Linked DNA regions of Homo sapiens: all the other regions are linked to region 1. Evidence: promoter capture Hi-C in 16 types of primary human blood cells and fetal thymus (Javierre and others, 2016). All regions are on one chromosome and are shown on one strand. Each heading gives the region's core, a stretch centred on a gene start or on the middle of the fragment in contact. The rest is flanking DNA. Distances are from core to core; before and after follow the strand shown.

What was found. Contacts are between HindIII fragments. The CHiCAGO score rates a contact against its expected background, and 5 or more counts as called.
Region 2: a contact is called between a fragment that was not itself captured here and the fragment with the promoter of KIF14 in region 1, in 1 of 17 cell types (naive CD8 T cells). The highest score is 5.0, in naive CD8 T cells.
Region 3: a contact is called between a fragment that was not itself captured here and the fragment with the promoter of KIF14 in region 1, in 1 of 17 cell types (neutrophils). The highest score is 6.4, in neutrophils.
Region 4: a contact is called between a fragment that was not itself captured here and the fragment with the promoter of KIF14 in region 1, in 5 of 17 cell types (total CD4 T cells, naive CD4 T cells, naive CD8 T cells and 2 more). The highest score is 8.0, in total CD4 T cells.
Region 5: a fragment that was not itself captured here is called in contact with the fragment with the promoter of KIF14 in region 1 in 1 of 17 cell types (total CD4 T cells); the score reaches 5.5 in total CD4 T cells.

What each region holds. Positions count from the first base shown.
Region 1 is chr1:200,619,425-200,622,055 of GRCh38, forward strand. It overlaps KIF14 (kinesin family member 14), which reads right to left and starts at 1,327. Exons shown (of 30, transcript NM_014875.3): 1 at 987-1,327. RefSeq lists an enhancer at 595-1,096 and a silencer at 1,265-1,414. The HindIII fragment of the contact is 3,652 bases long and covers 1-2,631 here.
Region 2 is chr1:201,120,272-201,122,902 of GRCh38, forward strand. All of the region lies in intron 1 of ASCL5 (achaete-scute family bHLH transcription factor 5), which reads right to left. Among named protein-coding and RNA genes, the nearest start is that of ASCL5, 5.6 kb to the right of the region's middle. The HindIII fragment of the contact is 9,756 bases long and covers 1-2,631 here.
Region 3 is chr1:201,006,838-201,009,468 of GRCh38, forward strand. KIF21B (kinesin family member 21B) reads right to left here. Exons shown (of 35, transcript NM_001252102.2): 2 at 2,429-2,631; 3 at 1,932-2,114. Among named protein-coding and RNA genes, the nearest start is that of KIF21B, 16 kb to the right of the region's middle. The HindIII fragment of the contact is 2,864 bases long and covers 1-2,631 here.
Region 4 is chr1:200,967,075-200,969,705 of GRCh38, forward strand. It overlaps KIF21B (kinesin family member 21B), which reads right to left. Exons shown (of 35, transcript NM_001252102.2): 35 at 2,316-2,631. Among named protein-coding and RNA genes, the nearest start is that of KIF21B, 55 kb to the right of the region's middle. The HindIII fragment of the contact is 198 bases long and covers 1,196-1,393 here.
Region 5 is chr1:200,906,297-200,908,927 of GRCh38, forward strand. INAVA (innate immunity activator) reads left to right here. Exons shown (of 10, transcript NM_001142569.3): 6 at 1,538-1,591; 7 at 2,434-2,631. Among named protein-coding and RNA genes, the nearest start is that of INAVA, 13 kb to the left of the region's middle. The HindIII fragment of the contact is 4,710 bases long and covers 1-2,631 here.

The sequences.
Region 1 (2,631 bases), core at 77-2,576:
TTGCTGCAACCTCCTCCTCCTGTATTCAAGCAAATCTCCTGCCTTAGCCTCCCAAGTAGCTGGGACTACAGGCGCCCACCACCATGCCCAGCTAATTTTTGTATTTTTAGTAGAGACGGGGTTTCACCATGTTGGCCAGGATGGTCTCGATATCTTGACCTTGTGATCCGCCCGCCTCGGCCTCCCAAAGTGCTGGGATTACAGGCGTGAGCCACCGCGTCCGGCCCATGTATGTTGAATACAGGAATGCCTATAGAGAAGATTGAATTGATTGGTGTCACGAGGCAGATTATTCCCAAGTACCACAGGCAGTAAGTACGATAAGTACTGTAAATTAATTGTGTTGAGAAAAACCATGCAAGATTAGATAAACAGACAACCTGCCCTTTAGCAGTAAGACAACAAATTAGACAGAGGTGTATGTAAATATACAGCAACAATATCTATCAGGTATTAACGTTTTAAAGAAAGGGAACAGCAGTGACAGCTAAGAGACCTGGCTTTTAGTCAGCTTTGTATCCAACTCCTTACAAGGATGTAAACAAGACTTTAAATTTGCATGCCGGGTTCTAACCTGTAAAATGACACTGGTTCAAACTATTGCAAAGATTATTGCTAGCGAGGAACAAATTAATGGAAGTTCATTTTTAAATGAGGCTTTTAAATTTTTACATAAATAACAGTCATTACAAAAAAAATTCGTCAGCTTATAAGCATCTCCCATCAACGTTTCAACTCAAAATACAGAATTTTCCTGTTATGAAATGAATTTAAAGGCAAAAAGAAGATTCTGGAAATTCTCTTGCAACTAAAAACCATTTGCGATTTGCACAAATCAATACGGTTTCTGTTTGAGGAGTTTCGCCATCAGATTTTAAAGAGGACTGGAAGGAATACAAGGAAAATAAGCACAATCCAAACCAAAACATCCGGTGATTCTGTTCTTTCTCTGCTAGTCATTACCAGGGGCTATGACTAAGAATTACCTCTTAATGCCAACCGACTCGGGGAGACTCGGGGAGAAGCCCACGGGCCGAGAGGCCCTGAAGTCCGGCTTCCCGGTCCCAGCAGAGACGCTGCCTTGCGCCCTTCGTTCGGGGACCCCTTCGCCGCCGACCTGGAATGCTGAGGAACTGAATGGGGGACTGGAGCTAAGACCACCCGCCCGCAGAGCAGTGGTCGCCTGTAGGGAAAGCGTCCGCACGCCCTCCCCAGTGCCGAAACTTCGCCCCTCCGCAGGGTCCGGCACCTTGGGGACCCCCTCGACACAGTCCCCACGCCACTCACCACCTCCAGCGCCGGCTCCCCAGAAGGCCGCAATTTGAATGGGCGCCCCGCCTTCTGATTGGCTGCTGGGCGTCGCGTCGGGTGCCGCGCCTTTGCTTCCACCCGCCCCCCGGAAGTGCCGGTGGTTGGGCTCCGGTAGCCGTCTCTGAATGCTGGACTCGCCCCACCCTCATCTCCCAGGCAACGCTCCCTCCCCTCCTCGGGTTCTGCTAAAGCGTGGAGCTTGGCCCCCTTTAAATCCGACCAGAGGAAGGGGCGGCGGTCGCGGGCGCAGCGGGCCCCTCGTTGAAGTGGGTGTCAAACGAAAAGCATGACAGTGACACTCTTGTCGGTCTTTAATCTAAAAGAAGCCATTACATCGAAGACTTCACATTGTAAATGGATATTTGCCCCCAAGTTAATCATAATAATTAACTTTTCTAGTGTTTCCTATGCAAGGCGTTCACGTAGGAAATATGCTAAATGTCTTATATGAATTTTTAAACAGTCCTGAAAATCTTGTGAGATAAATATTAATGTTATCCCTCGTTTACAGATGAGGAACTGAGGTTTAGAGTTAAACTTGTGAAAGATCAGACAATTAGCAGTGGCATAACTAGAACTTGAAGGTTCTTGCCGCCGTACAATGTAACTCCGTTTCAGTAAAAGTTCCCTTTTTTTAATTTTTTTTTTCTTTTTTGAGACGGAGTCTCGCTCTGCAGCCCAGGCTGGAGTGCAGTGGCCCCTGCAACCTCCGCCTCCCTGGTTCAAGCGATTCTCCTGCCTCAGCCTCTGGAGTAGCTGGGATTACAGGCGCGCACCACCACGCCCAGCTAATTTTTGTATTTTTAGTAGAGACGGGGTTTCACCATATTGGCCAGGCTGGTCTCGAATTCCTGACCTTGTAAGCTGCCAGGCGTGAGCCACTGCGCCGCCCAGCCCCCATAAGATTTTGAAATCTGAAAAAATATTACAAATACATTCTGAAAAATAACCAAATAAATGAGAAAGACTAGATAAATAGATATTGTAAAGCAACAATGTTTTTTAAACAGGCAAAAAGTACAGAGATATTGAAGAAGTATTCACTGAGATAGAGACCATAAGTAGCTCCAATTATATAGACCAACCAAACAGATGATAAAGTACTCATTCTAAATCTTACTCTAAAAATCATTCTAAAACTCAATTAAAATTAAGGTATAAGGAAACTATCAGAAAATAGAATATAATATTTATCAGGGCCAGGTGCGGTGGCTCACGCCTGTAATCTTAGCACTTTGGGAGACCAAGGCAGGCGGATCACTTGCAGTCAGGAGTTTAAAACCAGCCTGGCTAACATGGTGAAACCCCGTCTCTCCTAAA
Region 2 (2,631 bases), core at 59-2,558, 500 kb after region 1:
CACCAATATTAGCCCCTTGTTGTCCCTATTGCCAGAGGATCTCACTGTCCACACCCCTGGGGATGGCACATTATCATAACTTGCTGTTAATGGTTTCATACTCATCCCCTGCCCATCTCTCCCAGGCCTCTCCCTGGTGCTCAATGTTCACCAGGGCCCTGTCTCCCCACCCTCCTCAGCCTTATACTCTGCATGGGCAACAGGCAACCTGAGGGCCCTCTCCCCAGGGCTCTTCCTGTCACTGCCCCCAACCCAGGCTGTAAACTGTGAGCCCAAGAACTCTGGTCTTATCCTTCTTTGAGACACACAGTACACGCTCAGTTAAGTGTTTGTTGATTGACACTGGTGGGAAGCCCTGGGGAGGCAAAGGCAGATGTGAACTTTGAAGAAGCAGACAACATAATTCTACCTTTCAGGCTTTCCTCATTGTCTTTAGCAGGACTGGAACCAGAGTTGGGGGTCTGAGGTCAGGAATTGGCTGAACATGTCTCTTTCAACAGGGAACCCATGGCTCTGAAGGAAGTATTGGGGAAAGTGATTCCATAGTCTTCTTCTTCTCCTACCACTCTGAGAGATTTCTGAGAGTTGACCAGTCCATAATGCTGCTTTTGGGCAGCAACAGGGAGACTGCTTCCATAGCCTCCCCTCTACCCACTGCCGCCAAAAACTGGGAACATTTGTAAGGAAGCCCCAAGGACTCAGAATGACAGAACTCATTAGCTTTGTGGAATCCTCACTCATTCCCCTGCCTCCAGGCAAGGTGGTTGCTAAAACCTTTCCCCTAAGGGCTGCATAATTTGAGAAATGCAGCTCCCCGCATTTCCCTCCTTGGATACCCACATTAGCGTTGGCCCTTGGAGGGCATGTTAGCATCAGAGGCCCTGGGAAGCCCTGCAGGTAAAGAAACCTGTTTGTATTTAACCCCCAAATTCCCAATGGAACCACAGAACACTTAAAAAATGGTCTTAAGCCCACTAACATCAAATAGAATACACTTCAGGAAATTCTGCCTTTAAATCTTCAGGGTAAATGTATTTTTTTAAGAAACAAATAGGGGCTGGTGTGTGGCTCACACCTGTAATCCCAGCACTTTCGGAGGCCGAGGTGGGGGGATCGCTTGAGCCCAGGAATTTGTGACCAGCTTGGGAACCTTGTGCTTCTAGTCTTGTTTAAGTCTTACTCACCGCTACATTTTCCTTTAGGAATTCAGTTTTGTGTGTGGTTTCCAATAGGGTTCTGTTTTAATTTTGTAGACCAATAATTAGCAGTGTCGATTTATTTAGCATTCATTAAGCAGGCCATCTTTTTATCACTAACTTGAAAAAAATCTCTCATTAAATATTGTATTCATCTTTCATTAGGTTCTGCATACTTTAGTAGAGACCCTATCTCTACTAAAAATAAAAACGGTTAACTGGATGTGGTGATGCATGCCTGTAGTCCCGGCTACTCAGGAGGCTGAGGTGGGAGGATCAGTTGAGCTCAGGAGGTGGAGGCTGCAGTGAGCTGTGATTGCAGCACTGCACCCAGCTGGGTGACAGACTCAGACCCTGTCTCAAAAAAAAAAACCCCAAAACAACAACAAAAACCCAAATAGGAAATCTTACAATCTCCCTTGGGGGGTCTGTCACATAACCTGTACATATTTCTAGAAGGATAACCTCACCACCCCCACCATATACATAGTGAACACTCCAGACCACATATTCAACATAAGCAATCCTTTCAGAATCTTGACGGGTATAGTTTCAACACTGATGGGAGAAGGGGCAGCCAGGCCCTGTGACCATGAGCCCACATGGCACCTTGCTGGGTTAGAAAATGATGCTTCATGCTCTGGGTGGGTGTTGTGCAGGCGGGATTCCAGCCCCACTTGCCCCCTTAGCCTGCACTGAATGAGGAAGTACTATCCATGGGCCCCAGAGCCTGCTTAGCCCCTCACGCTGCCCTCCACGCCATCCTCCCTGCCTCAGGTTTGGAAACCTCTGTTGCTCCGCAGCAACCTGGCTGCATCCAGTTTCACAAAGAGAAAAGCTCACAGAGCTTTGACATGGGCTGACCAAGCCAAGTCCTCAATGTGGCATCACTTTGCTGAGAGTCTTAAAGAAGAGAAACAGGGTGGAGAAGGATGGGCTCGCGTGGATTAGGTGCCCTCTGATGCTTGGTGCTTTGCGGCGTGCTCTGCTTTCCTTATCCCATGCTATCCTCACACCTGAGAGAAGGTATTACTGTTCCTGTTTACAAAAGAGGAAACAGGCTCAGAGAGGCTAAGAGAGCTGCTCAGGGTCACACAGCCGATTGAATTTACCAGGGTCTCATTGGGTTGATATGAGGACTTTCTTGGCCGGGCAGCGGTCCCCACCTTTTTTATGAGTAATGATTGTTACAGGATCTCCTGGGGGTGGAGCTGGGTGAGGAATTTAGTCCTTCCCAGTTCCCTGAATATAACCAGGCATTTGCAATGCTGTGGAGTTATGGGAAGATGTTCCCAGAGGCAACCACCCCACTGCTAAACCCTGAGCACGGGCTTTAGATTAAACTGGCCGGGATGAATCCTGGCGCTGCTCTTACTGGCTAAGTAGCTTTAGGCCAGTTACTGACTTCTATAAGCCTGTTGCCTCATCTGAAAAG
Region 3 (2,631 bases), core at 89-2,588, 390 kb after region 1:
ACACAGACACAGAGACACACAGACACACACACACACAGACACAGAGACACATAGACACACACACACAGAGACAGACACACACAGACACACACACACAGAGACAGACACACACAGACACACACACACAGACACCCACTCACAGACACAGAGATACACAGACACGGACACAGAGACACACAGACACACACACACACAGACACAGAGACACATAGACACACACACACACAGACACACACAGACACACACACACAGAGACAGACACACACAGACACACACACGCAGACACCCACACACAGACACAGAGATACACAGACACGGACACAGAGACACACAGACACACACACAGACACAGAGACACACAGACACACACACACACAGAGACAGACACACACAGACACACACACACAGAGACAGACACACACAGACACACACACGCAGACACCCACACACAGACACAGAGATACACAGACACGGACACAGAGACACACAGACACACACACAGACACAGAGACACATAGACACACACACACACACAGAGACAGAGACACACAGACACACACACGCAGACACCCACACACACAGAGATACACAGACACGGACACAGAGACACACAAACATACACACACACAGACACAGAGACACATAGACACACACACAGAGACAGACACAGACATACACACACAGAGACACACAGACACACACACAGACACCCACACACAAACACAGAGACACACACACAGACACACACATAGACACAGAGACACACACAGAGATACACACACACAGACACAGACAGGCACACACACACACACACAGACGCGCACACAGAGACACATAGACACACGCACAGACACACACAGACAGATGCGCACACAGACACATAGACACACATACACACACACACATACACAGATGCACTCACACAGATGCACACATACAAAGATGCGCACACAGACACATAGACACACACATAGACACACAAGACACAGAGCCACACACAGACATACAGACAGATGACACACACACACAGATACAAACACACAGTCATACACACATAGGCAGTCCATTTATCAGAAGCGAAAGTCCAGAGGGGCAAAGAAAACCTCCAAATTCTAAAATGCAGGATACCCTGCAGGGCAAGCCACCACCTGTGTGCCCAGGAGGGAGTAGCTGTGTTGTGGTAGGCAGGGGCTGGGGTTGGGGAAGGCCTGGAGAGGGCCAAAGCCACATGCTTCCCTCAGAAGGCAACCTGGACACAATCAGAGCAGCAGGGTTTATGGGATAAGTGCCCTTACTGAGTGGGGGCTCAGCATAGGCCCAATGGTCAAGAGCACAGAGACCCCCTGCTCCCCACTAAAAGCCCCTCCCTGGCTGCCACAGTCTGGGCCTGATATTCTCCCAGAGACAGGAAGGGCCAGGTGCACAGAAAGACCTTTCCTAGAGGACCTTTCTGCCCTGGGGTCAGAGAAGACTCAGGGGGCCAGGAAGCATCTGAGCCAGAAAGGGGCAGGATAGGATGCCCTGAGGCTGAGGGGGAACCCAGAGAAGGCCAGAAGGAAGGGAGAGAGCCAGGGTTCTCACAAAACCCTAAGGAAACAGGTACCACCCCATTTTGCAGATGAGGCTCAGTGTGGTAAATGACTAGCCCAAGGTCACAAGGCTAATCAGTGTCAGAGCTAGAACACGTCAGGGTGTGAAGGGATCATACAGTCATCAACTCAAGCTCCATCTGATGCAGGAACCCCTTTTGAGTGTCCCACCAAGTAGTCCTCCAGCCCTTGCTTGGATTCTTTCAATAGCAGGGAACTCATCACCTGGAGATGCCCCCATGGTTCCCAGGACTCATTCCACTGCACTGGAGGAAGGCCCGGCTTCCATGGTCCTGTTGTCCACCAAGCCTCCCACCTGCCCACCCTATGGGGCCACAGTACCTCCAGAAACTGGGCGCTGACTTTGAACTCAGGTCCAGCCACGCCCTGCTCCTGTGCCCGGCGCTTGCGCTCGGCAATGCCCCCAAAGAGGTGTGCGATGGCCCTCGGGATGATGCCCTGCTCCTCCTCCGACGTTGCCATGTCAAAGCCAGTGCCCATGGTGTACGTCTTCCCGGCCCCCGTCTGCATTGGCAAAGATAGGAGGGTGTAACCCTGCACCCTTTGGGGGCACCAGCAAGCCCTGTACCTGGGCCAAATCCCCTTAGCTCATCTACCTCCCAGCCCGGTTCCCCTGCTGCTTTCTTGGTCCTGAAGCCACACTCTGGGGAAATCACTGACAGCCCTCCCTCTGCTAACCAGCGGTGCAACGGCCTCCTTAGACAATAGACAAAACCCTGAGGCTATGTTTCAGCTGCTCTGAAGGTGGAGCTTTCTCTCCATTGGATGCAGGGAGACCAAGGCTGGAGCCGCCATAGGTGGGCGTGAAGATGGCTTACCTGCCCATAGGCCAGCACCGTGGCATTATAGCCCTCGAAGCAGCCCTCGATGAGCTTGCTCACACAGGTGGAATAGATCTGTTCTTGCCAGGTGTCCAGGTCGAAGACAAAGTCATAGGTGAAGGCCTTGTCCTTCCCCAGCAGGACCTGGGGCTCTCCCGGGGTAACAGAGGTACAGATGTGACAGCCCTCAATCTTCTCCT
Region 4 (2,631 bases), core at 45-2,544, 350 kb after region 1:
GGCACAGCCCAAACCACACCCCAAGCATCAACACTCAGGCCTGGATACTTGCCCTGCAGTGCCCTGCCTCTGCCAGGGCAGTTTTGCTTTGTTACAAGCAATGATAAAAGATAGATCTTATTAAAAATCTATTAACCGGTCAAGTGCATTGGGATGAGACCCACTTTAAAGACTGTTCTGACACCCCCACAAGTCACCCCCTCACTTTGGTCAAGCATAAAATAATGAATACAAGGTAATGAATGCATGGAAAGTAATGGATTCTAGGGCCATCTCTGTCCCAGGATGATTTTGGCCAACTCTGTTGGCTTCTCTGGGCCTCAATTCTGTAGAATGTAAATTTATAAACAGAGAGTTGGAAAACATTATCTTTGTTTTTAAAACTCAACTTCAGAGGCTGAGGAAAAGATACCTTTAAGATGCCACCTAGTTCTGACAATTGAATGGCTCTTACCAAATTCTGAGAGGTGCCATTCCCTTGTGCCTGGGAAAGCTGCCCCATAGCTTATATCCTAAACGGGATTTTTCTTGACACTCTTGCTTTCCAAATTTTCTAAAGTAAGCAGATATTATTCATGTAATCTGGAAACAAAACAACACCCCACATTAAAAGAAGAAAAGAGTCTCTTAACCCAGTGTTCCTGTCCCCCACTGCACCCTGCAGGAGCCTTGGCATCCTCGAGAGACAGGGTGAACTACATTTGGAAAAATTACCTTGTGCTGCAAACTTTCTGGAGGGTGCAGGGAGGAGCGCAGTGGCAAGAAGGAACCAGATGGCTGGAGTCCACTCCAGGTCTGGCCCGTGACCAGTTCCCCAGTGGCCGGTCTCTGGGTCTTGCCCACACACCCTGCCCAGTCTGCAGCTGGCCATGCCCAGGTGTCACTTCCTGCAGTTCACAGTGGGCTCTTCTGTCCCACTGTCAGGCAGGATCCTATGCAAAATATGGACCTGTGGGGAGCGAGGGTGGGGCGGGGAGTGGCATGGGTGATGCCGGGTCAGCCAGCCAAAAACAACTGTCCGCAAGAAGCCACCCTGCTCCTGGGGCAGGAGGCTCTGTGCCTGCCAGCGGGGCTGGCATGTCAGGGCAACTCTGCCCACTTGTGTCTCCCTCCATGGCTCAGGGTCCCTCTCTCACTCACCAAGGCCTTTCTGTTTGAGGACCAGAAGCCTCTCTAGAGGAAACCTTCCCCAGGAAGCTTCACCCTCCCACCCACGGTGACTTCTGCCTCCTACAGACTCCAGGAATTCCCTGGCCAGAGCACCTGTCACATCCATAAGTCTGGACAAACAGCAGGGGACCTGCGCAGGCTGAGGAAGCAATTTGGTTTTATATTTGGGAAACAAAGCAAAGAGAAACCCTATTATATTCCTGATACAAATATCAGGAAGTTAAGCTTTTTAATCAGTTGTGGCTGGTGATGAAGATGTGGATTCTCCCCGAGGGGCCTCTCTGCCCAGGGGATGGGCCGGAATCTCCAGGAGTTGGTGAAACAATTCATGGTTATCAAAAGGGAATATGGGTTCTTAAAGACTGAAAAGCACTGATCTAGGACAAAAATCATGGTGAGGCACAGTGACTCACGCTTGTAATCCCAGCACTTTGGGAGACTGAGATGGGAGGTAAGGCTTAAGCCCAGGAGTTCGAGACCAGCCTGGGAAACATAGTGAGATCCCATCTCTATTTAAAAAGAAAAGAAAAGACCTTTGTAGAGCTCTTTTCTTGTATGATCTTTTTATAGTCTTGCCTTCTTTCCATAAGTGGCAAGGGACCGAGATGCGTTTGGCGTGCACCACGCACAGCGTAGTCCAGGCCCTAGAGAGGTACGTGTTACGTTAGCAAAAGGCAAAGGCTGCTGTGGTTGGGGAGGTCTAGATGCAGATCCTGGCTCTGTCCTTACTAGCTGTGATCCTGGGAAAGTCACATCCATCCCGAGACCTTTCTCATTTCATAAAATGAGAATGTCACCTGTCACACAGGGCAGTGAAGACACAATGAAAAATGCTCTGAACAGTGCCTAGGATATAGCAGTTGGTCCACAAATGCTGCTGCCCACTCTTCCAGCAACTGCACCTGCCTCTGGAGACAACATATGGAGTCTGGAGGAGAATGTGACGCTCTCAAAGCTCTCTGCTTTCTAACTGGTGAAGCCCCAAACTCACAGCTCAGGAAGTTCTCATCAGGCTGGGCCCAGCCCCAGAGGCCTGCTGCACCCATTCACCCACCCACCCACCACCACCACCAACTCCCTCTCCAAAGGCCCCAGCCAAAAGTCAGCAGCCCCCTGGAAGGGGACAGGGGACACCTCCACAGACATTGGTCATTCAGGTTTTATTTATGACAACTTCTTAGAACACACACATCCAATCTAGGAACAGAAATGTACAACATGGGGCTTAAATAACTTTCATACACTATGTACAGCCATCGGCAGAGGTACAAAACATATATACACCTTGTGCTAGTCACATCATGGAGGACAGCAGGAGCCTAATGAAGCCTGCAGCCTGGGCAGGACATGATTGCTAGAAAAGAGTTGGTGGGCAGGGCAGGGCCCTGATTCATCTCAGGGGTCTTCTCTGATCCTCGGCTCTTTGTGGAGGAGTTTCTATTTCCTACTTCCCTGCAAGGC
Region 5 (2,631 bases), core at 92-2,591, 290 kb after region 1:
TCACCTGAGGTCAGGAGTTCAAGACCAGCCTGGCCAACCTGGCAAAACCCCGTCTCTACTAAAAATACAAAAATTAGCCAGGCATAGTGGTGTGTGCCTGTAATCCCAGCTACTCGGGAGGCTGAGGCAGGAGAATCGCTTGAACCTGGGAGGTGGAGGTTGCAGTGAGTCGAGATCACACCACTGCTCTCCAGCCTGGGTAAGAGAATGAGACTCCATCTCAAAAAAAAAAAAAAAAAAAATCTGAAGGCTTAAGTTTCTTCAAAAGCAATAGCACAAATGAGTTCCCTCTGATTTCTTAGGTAAAAAGTGCTGCTATACCATGAAGTAAAGTCACACTGAATTTCCTTCAGGTGACTTGCCAGATCACCAACTGAAGAAACTTCCCTGGGGCCAGCTGGCCAGACCTTATCTTAAATTCAAATTCCTACCTTGCGTTCCTCTTGTTGTTGGTAACACAGGAGGTCTCACATTGGGATCTTTGAATTGTGTTTGTGATGTGAGATGATTATACAAAAGTTAGAGTGAAATTCCCTTTTTTTTATTTGAGACAGGGTCTCACTCTGTTGCCCAGGCTGGAGTGCGGTGGTGTGATCACGGCTCACTGCAGCCTCGACCTCCCAGGCTCAAGTGATCTTCCCATCTCAGGTTCCCAAGTAGCTGGGACTACAGGCATGCACCATCATGCCTGGCTAATTTTCGTATTTTTTGTAGAGACCAGATTTCACCATCTTGCCCAGGTGGGTCTTGAACTCCTGGGCTTAAGCCATCTGCTGCCTTGGCCTCCTAAAATGCTGGGATTACAGGCATGAACCACCGCGCCTGGCCATGAAATTCTTTTTATCCTAAGGGCCTTCCAAAATGACCCTTTGTCTTTCCTTTCCACTACCAAGAAGCCCTGCCAGAGGACACCCTTTTTCTTTTTTTTTGACAGGTGGGGAAACTGAGGTCTAGAGCATTGAAATGGTTTATTCAAGGTTGCATAGCTAGTATCAGAGTCAGGATTAAAATCAGGTTTCCTGTCTCCTAGCTCTGCCTTCTATTTTTTTCTACTTCCATGTAGTAAGTTTACAGCCAGGCCAGGCACAGTGGCTCATGCCTATAATCCCAGCACTTTGGGAGGCCAAGGTGGGATGATCACTTGAGCCTAGGAGTTCAAGATCAGCCTGGGCAAGACAGCAAGACCTCTTCTCTACAAAAAAAATAAAATAATTTAGCTGGGTGTGCTGGCATGCCCCTGTGGTCTCAGCTACTTGTGAGGCTGAGGTGGGAGGATCCCTTGAGCCTGGGAGGTCAAGGCTGCAGTGAGCCATGATCACACCACTGCACTCCAGCCTGGGCCACAGGGTAAGACCCTGTCTCTTAAAAAAAAAAAAAATCACTCCCAATGTGTATTTAGCACACAGAGGGTATTTCCTCATAACTGATGCTGTCCTGGGGGAGTGATCAGGCCTGAGCTGCTCAGCACTGCTGGTTACTCATATCTGTTTGTTCATTTCTTCACTTCCTTCTCTTCTCTCCCCTTTGTCTTTCGCAGAGCTCAGTGCCTCTGATGACAGCTCCCTGTCAGATGGGCTCCTCCTGGAGGAAGGTGAGAAGGACGTTTGGGGGACTATTGTCAAGGCTGGACTCCTACTGCAAGACCATGGGGTTTGGGCAGTTTGCTGGTGTGGAATTTAAGTGGGAGTGAAGGCTAGGGTGCCAGGCTTAGGGTTTCCGCTTGGACTTCATGTCAATTTCCGCATGTCCTTGCACATGCTCAGTTGAAGATGGGGAATGTGCGATCATCTCCCATTCTGGAAGCTCATTATTTTTACAGGGAAAGGAAAGGTGAACTCCAAGAGAGCTGATCAACCCCAGATGTCCCTCCTTCACCCTTGGGTGTGATTTCAAGATGCACCAGTCAGAGCCAAAGAGCAATCTGCCCACAATCATTGCTGTTTTTTAAAAGAAGGGAGCAGGAAGGAAACACAAGTCTATAGATTAAGAACCCTGTGTACAAACCATGAGGATGCCAGGGTCAAGGTGGATCGAGAAGCTGTTGCAGTCCTGCCCAGGGGAGTGCCCAAGCCAATAAGGAAATAAATAGGCCATATGGGCATGGCAGGAACAAGAAAAATAGGTAAACAAAAGATAACTGCAGACATGGTACCAGGAACAAAGGTTAGAAAGTGGAGCACTGTAAGCCCAAGAGAGTCAATCTGGGAGGCTTCTTGAAGGAGGAAGGCATAAAATAGGGCTGTGTGGGAAGAAGTAAGTCCCAAAGGAGAAGAAAACATGTTTGAGCATCTAGGGCTGGAGCCATGGCCTGCAGCAGCTGCACAAGCCAGCATGGGAGGGAGAGCGGCGAGGCATGGGCTGTGGTTTGTGGAGGTTCTTGTTGGGCCGGTTCCCCCAGCCTCTGGCCTTACCAGGTTTCTTTTACTCCTGCAGAGGAATCCCAAGTGCCAAAACCTCCTCCAGAGTCTCCAGCCCCACCTTCTCGGCCTCTCCCACCCCAAACCCTTGAGGGTCTGCAGCCAACAGGACCTGAGGCTGGGAGCCCAGAACGGGCTCCAGTCCAGAACAGCCCCTGGAAGGAAACCAGCCTGGACCACCCCTATGAGAAGCCCAGGAAGTCTTCTGAGCCCT